Linked DNA regions of Homo sapiens: region 1 is linked to region 2. The links are contacts of gene promoters, found by promoter capture Hi-C in human tissues and cell types (Jung and others, 2019). All regions are on one chromosome and are shown on one strand. The core of a region is centred on a gene start or on the middle of the fragment in contact, and the rest is flanking DNA. Distances in the headings are between cores, read along the strand shown.

Evidence for each region. The method cuts DNA at HindIII sites, captures the fragments that hold promoters and counts their contacts. A contact is called where the count stands out against the background at its distance.
Region 1: a contact is called between a fragment that was not itself captured here and the fragment with the promoter of IGIP in region 2, in 1 of the 25 tissues and cell types used here (hippocampus).

The regions. Positions count from the first base shown.
Region 1 is chr5:139,564,528-139,567,696 of GRCh38, forward strand. All of the region lies in intron 1 of UBE2D2 (ubiquitin conjugating enzyme E2 D2), which reads left to right. Among named protein-coding and RNA genes, the nearest start is that of UBE2D2, 4.8 kb to the left of the region's middle. RefSeq lists enhancers at 778-877, 1,068-1,207. The HindIII fragment of the contact is 5,297 bases long and covers 1-3,169 here.
Region 2 is chr5:140,123,910-140,127,386 of GRCh38, forward strand. It overlaps IGIP (IgA inducing protein), which reads left to right and starts at 2,028. Exons shown (of 1, transcript NM_001007189.2): 1 at 2,028-3,477. PURA (purine rich element binding protein A) reads left to right here. Exons shown (of 1, transcript NM_005859.5): 1 at 1-1,710. The HindIII fragment of the contact is 10,247 bases long and covers 1-3,477 here.

The DNA.
Region 1 (3,169 bases), core at 360-2,859, 560 kb before region 2:
ACTGCAACTTCCGCTTCCTGGGTTCAAGCGATTCTCCTGCCTCAGCCTCCGGAGTAGCTGGGATTACAGGCACTCCGCCGCCATGCCCAGCTAATTTTTGTATTTTTAGTAGAGACGGGATTTCACCATGTTGGCCAGGCTGGTCTTGAACTCCTGACCTCAAGTGTTCTGCCACCTTGGCCTCCCAAAGTGCTGGGATTGCAGATGTGAGCCACGTCATCTGGCCTGGCCTGAACTTTTAGAATTCAATATTAACCATTTTCCCCTAGTTTATTCCCTAGAGCTCTTCACAAAGTATGGCTTGACTTCTCTGAGACAGCTAGTGATAAGAAAAATGAAGTTTATTTTGGTATACCACTCAAAAAGATTGTGAAAACAAAATGGAGATTAATTTTTTTTTTCCAAACTCTTTGTACCACAATTTTAAGTTGAATAGCTGACTTCCTAGGCATGGATAAGATCAGTTCTATCTTATCTTCTGTCCTAGTAATGTGTCTGCAGTGGAATCCCCATTGCTTGGCTTCTATAATTGATCTTGAACCTTCCCAATTATCATTCCCTGAAAAAATAATTCTACTTAAATACCTTCTTGACTTAAATGTCATGAGTTGCTACATCTGGGTTCTGATAAGATTTTTCTAAGAAAAACTACATTTGACATGTGACATCTTCAGGAATTCAATATCTTGTTTCTTTGACAGAGGGACGCTATTCATGTCTGTGAATTTGGCAGTCTTTGAAATGCCATGTCTTTTTTGGAAAAAGCTTTTGATGGACTTTATTTTGATATACATCTTAAGGTCCCCTGACCTATACTATAAGCAGAGCATAGCAAAGAGGGTCATTATGAACATTGTGTGTAGTTCTGGGCAGGGCTTGGGATCCTTTGGGATTGTTGGTATCTACACCACATGGCCCCACCCTGCTATGTTTTAAGGTTTTCTGCTGACTTTTTAGGTCTTCAGCCTTGATTTTGATGCTTTGAGTGCCTGCCTCTAGCAGCACCACCCCCAGCCCTTTTCCAGTTGGCTGCATCTCATCTGTTGTGGGCTAAGAAACCAGATCACAGAGCTTATTAAAATTGTGTCTAAAATAAGATCCAGTAGGCTCTTGACTGAAGAGGGCTTCATGTGCTCTGTGAACTGTGTGGTTTCCTTGGCTGATCGGAGACCTTTCTGACTTGCTTCCTGTTTTTCTTCTTTACTTTTGCTATACAGATGTAGGAGGCTTTTTGGTGCTCTTAGAGTGCTGTAATGTTGAAGTATTTGGTTAATTTCTCTATTCTTGGGAAGGGTAAAAGGCTAAATAAATATCTTGATTCTTTGAGGAGTTGAAGACTGACCAGAGTTGGATACTAAAAGCTTTTCTTAACAGTAATAGTGCATTGTACATTTTAATGGTGTCCTACTAGTTGCAGATAACGTTTGGCATACATAGCTTTCAAACAAAGTAATGCCAGGATTATCACTTGATCTATTTCTGTGATAGAGATTTTTTTTCTTTCTTTTTTTTTTTTTTTGAGGCAGTCTTGCTCAGGCTGGAGTGCAGTGTCATGATCTTGGCTCACTACAAACTCTGGCTCCCAGGGTCAAGCAGTTCTCTTGCCTCAGACTCCCAAGTAGCTGGGATTACAGGCACTCACCACCATGCCCAGCTAATTTTTGTATTTTTAATAGAGACAGGGTTTCTCCCTGTTGGCCAGGCTGGTCTTGAACTCCTGACGTCAGGAGATCCGTCCGTCTCGGCCTCCCAAAGTGTTGGGATTACAGGTGTAAGCCACTGTGCCCGGCCTATGGCTAGCTTCTTTTAAGGCGTCTCAAGACAAAGTTCTCAATGAAATAAAGATTTCAGGTCATGCACAGTGGGTCATGCACAGTGGGTCACGCCTGTAATCCCAGCACTTTGGGAGGCCCAGGTGGGCAGATCGCTTGAGCTCAGGAGTTCGAGACCAGCCTGAGCAACATGACGAAACATGGTCTTTACAAAAAATACAAAAAATTAGCTGGGTATGGTGGTGGATGGCTGTAGTCCCAGCTAGGTGGGAGGCTGAGGTGGGAGGATCTCGGGAGCCTGGGAGGTAGAGGCTGCAGTGAACCGTGATCAAGCCGCTACACTCCAGCCTATGCAACAGAGTGAGACCCTGTCTCAAACAAACAAACAAACAAAAAGATTTCAAACTCTGATGTCTATAAAAGCCAGGCAGGTACCAAAGTGAGCAGAGAGAACTTGAGGGAGCTAGAAAATGCATGTGCTATCAGATGAGGGCAACTGCTAACCAGCTCCCTGCAAATGTTGCTATTGCTAAAATCTGTGGGCCCAGTGTTGCAATATCTTCCATTCAAAAAAAAAAGAGAAGCCACAAATCCAGATTTTTTGGCAACCGATTCAACTTAAAAAAAAAAAGAACAACAAAATACGCATTTTTGGTCGACATCAGTTTAGTATGTGGATTAAAGTAACCAGGGATTGGGGTTCATTAAGTAATCAGGAGTGTAAAAAGATTAAGTCATTTAAACAATACTTTCTGTATTTTTAAAAGTTTGAAAGTAATGCTTTATGTAAGATTAAGTTTTCTTGTTTGTTTGTTTTTGAGATGGAGTCTTGCTCTGTCGCCCAGGCTGGAGTGCAGTGGCATGATCTCGGCTCACTGCAACCTCCGCCTCCCAGGTTCAAGCAATTCTCCTGCGTCAGCCTCCCGAGCAGCTGAGACTACAAGCTCGCACCACCACGCCCAGCTAATTTTTGTATTTTTGGTAGAGACGGGGTTTCACCATATTGGCCAGGCTGGTCTCGAACTCCTGACCTTGTGATCCACCTGCTTCGGCCTCCCAAAGTGCTGGGAATACAAGCATGAGACACCGTGCCCGGCCTTAAGTAGTTTTTAAATACAATTCTAATTAACTTGCTTTTTTTTTTTGAGACCTCAGGTGATTTGCCCGCCTTGGCCTCCCAGAGTGCTGGGATTACAGGGATGAGCCACTGCACCCAGCCAATTTGCTAAGTTTTTTTTTTTTTTTTTTTTTTGAGATAGAGTCTCGCTCTGTTGCCCAGGCTGGAGTGCAGTGGCACAATCTCGGCTCACTGCAAGCTCTGCCTCCTGGGTTCACGCCATTCTCCTGCCTCAGTCTCCCGAGTAGCTGGGACTACAGGCATGCACCCCCATGCCCAG
Region 2 (3,477 bases), core at 778-3,277:
CATATAGTTTCCTTATGGTCTAAGTGTTACAACTGGTTTTCAAGTTGTTATATTGAATATTCCTTTTTGGAATTCAGGGTTGAATCACTTTGAGGGGGAAGGGAAGCAAGGGCAAGAGACTTTATTTTAACCAGATGCGGTCTTATGACCTCAAAGATGTGCTCTAGAAAGAAAATAACAAAAAGTGTACCTGTGAACATATTTTTTGTCTTGGTGATATTATGCAACACAGTGTTCAGAATTGCAAAAAAATTTAAAAATTGATAGTTTTATCAATGGAACAGAGAGATGTGTTTTTGGCTAAAATTATTTTTTGTAAGTTATTTGGTTATTTCATTTTATATTCCCTTTCCCATAGCTTTGTACACACCTCATACTTAAAACCAAGTGAGAGGCCTCTTTTCAGATCTGGTTTATTTTTGGAATGCCTGAGTGTGTTTCCAGATTGGGGGGGGAGAGGTGGTGTTTTACTTTTTGACATGCTCTTAGCATGTTTTGCTAGTCATTCTGGATCTTATGTTTGCAAATTCTGTTGAACATTCAGTGATGTATTTGAAATGAGAAAGTCCTTTATAACATAGTGTGAATGTTTGTGGCCAATTCAATTGTGGAATCTTATGGCTTTGTTTTTACTTTGGGTAGAAGTTTAACTTCCATTGTTCAGATTTTAGGTTTATCTAGTGAAATTGTGCCAGGTAGTTGTCTAAATATGGACCAATTTTGGGAAATGAAGATTAATAAGTGTATATTTGATTCTAGATAATCCTTTACTCAAAATCATAAGTTAAAGATTCACATCATTAAGAGTTATCTAACTTTTATGTTGTCAAATCTTTAAATGTGGATGATATTCAGCATTCTATCTATGAATTTCCTTTAGGAAAAGAGAAAAATTCAGTCTCCAAACCTTTTCTTGGAGACAAAATTTACCACATATCGAAAATGAAAAAAATTTAGAAAGCGATTTGATTATTTTTTAATGGAGTTTAACCAGCTTAATTAATGATTTTTCCAGTTTGAAGCACTTATTTTCCCAATGTGAATAAAGGGAAAAGATCAGCAATTTGTCCCTGGCCTTTTTCGAGGCCATTTTTAGTTTTCTGCCCCCATTTCCCAGTCCTGGTATAAAATGAATTACGGGTATCCCTCTAAGTCCCTATAACCCTTTTTGGGGGTCACAGATATCTTTGATAATCTGATGACAGTGTGATGGATCCTCTACCCAAGAAAAAAAAAATGCCCATCCCTGGATAATTTTGCATACAACTTCAGGGGCATCACACATCTTCTGAAACCCAAGTTAAAGATCTCTGCTCTAAGTAAATTGTAGAGAATTTTAGTGCAAATCGTTGATAAAATTAGGAACCAACTATTGGCTTAAAACCTTTCATATTGGAATTATTGTTAGATGGTGGCCCCTACTAGCAAAATGTGACATTGCAACCAGCTTCGTTAGACATTATAACAACCAGAGAGAAGGGAAAAAAGCAAAGTTCTGAAAGCTATTTATAAGGAGTCAGGGCATCTCTAGACATGGGAGCCTTCCTGGTTCAAGGCAGGGGTCAGGGTGCCTGACAATTTCTAGCAGGGTAGAGTTTGATAAACCACAATGCTCAGGATGCCAAGGGGTTAGCCATTATCTTAACCCCTTCCTCACCAAAAGATTTTAGTTTTGTCTGTTGGGAAACAAGATGTCACTAGGGAAAAAAAGATTTGCCTTACAACTTTGCTGGAACACATCAGTTTGGTGACGTTGGGACACTAGTGTTATTTTTGAGAAGGCGCATAAAACCAAAGTAAATTATTCTCTATGTAGAACATTTATTTACTAGTAACATTTGTTTGCGTGTATTCGCTTTGACAATTTTTACCAGTAAATATTGGTTTTATTTAAAACTGGGAATCCAGTTGATATATAGGATAGTTGATACATCTGTTCTTTCCCCCATGTAAAGCATAGTTAAAAGATTTATGCATACTTTTTACTTTTCTCTCTTAATGCCATGGGGTGGGGAGGGTGGGTGGGGGAAAGATTTTTGAGTCTACAACTGACAAAATGTCTTCTTCAAATTAAAAAAAATTGAGAAGCAGCACTTTAAGTCTAACTCTACACCATTTTATTGCATGTATTAGTTTTATTAATGATTTTTGGTGCATGCCTTTGGGCTTATTCAAAAGTGTACAATAGGAAAGTATATTTCCTTTCTTAGAAAGGAGATGTTTTCTACTTTGCAACATGTGATTACAAAAATCTTCCTCTGTGGGAAGATTAACCATGTATTGAACTACTGAAAAGTATATATTTTTAGATATACAGAAGGAATCTACATGGAGCAGCATTCAGACCTATATAGAAGTCATAGCATTCTGTATAGGACCAAAAAGGAAATAACATTAAACACTTAAACAGACGTTGTTGGGTAGAAATACCTTTAGATCTTGCATTTACTTCCAAAAAGAAAAAATGCCACAGAAGTTTGCTGAAAACTTTTGTCGTTTGAATTTTCTCTGTCAGTGTATTTAGCCCAAATACAACAGCTTTGGGTTAGCACACACATAAGAATCAAAAAAACAAAGCTCACTAAATAAATCAGTCTGGTTTGCCAATCCAGCTTGACTGAAATAAGTAAACCAATCACTTGCAACATGAAAAACTGTCCAACTCCTCTAAGGTTCTGACAAAATAACCTTGGCTGATGTGGGAAGACTCCCACTTTGATTACTGACCTGACAGTGAAGATTCATGCTTGACATGATTTCAGACTTGACAATGTCTGTTTAAGGAGCTATGGTACAGTTTGCTAATTCAATCCCAGATACCTGTTGATTACCTGTGAGATCTAGAGTCCAAAGTAGCCAGCAGCCATATCCCTGAGTGCTCTGTGCCCATCAGATATCTTAAAGTAAGCAGGGTTGGGACAGGTCACAGCTTGGATGATTGACCTCAGGTGCCGTAGACAGCCCCAGATTCAAGAATTGTATCTGCTTTCTTGGCAGTCGTCACTGAACTAATGTCCCATACTGTGTTACTTACTGTAGATGCTCTCTTTTAGAGGAGGCCCAGAGCACACATCCTAATCGCTAGCGGTACTCAGAGAGGGGGTGCTAACTCTGATGCCCTGGCCAAATTCCAGTTTAGGGATGTGGGTCTTCTTCTTGTCATTCTAATTGGAAATGTGCATCACTTCCCATTTTTCTTACTGATCTCAGTGCAAACTACACTAGTCTGTTTCTTTGCCCTGGTCTCAAGTCTCTAAGACGCTGGTGTGTATTATGTGGGCTAAGTTCATGTGTTATCCTAAGGCACAAGAGTTGAGGAATGGGTGAGCTTGGTGTCAGAGCACTGTGTGGTTGGAGGGTGGACTCTTGTGATGCTGTGGGGATGAAATTGGCCCTCTTTTAGCATAAGTTGGGGAGTGTGCACTGGCTGGAGGCTTCCAGAGGCTTCCAGCCATGAGGTGTGAGCTGAAACCAATT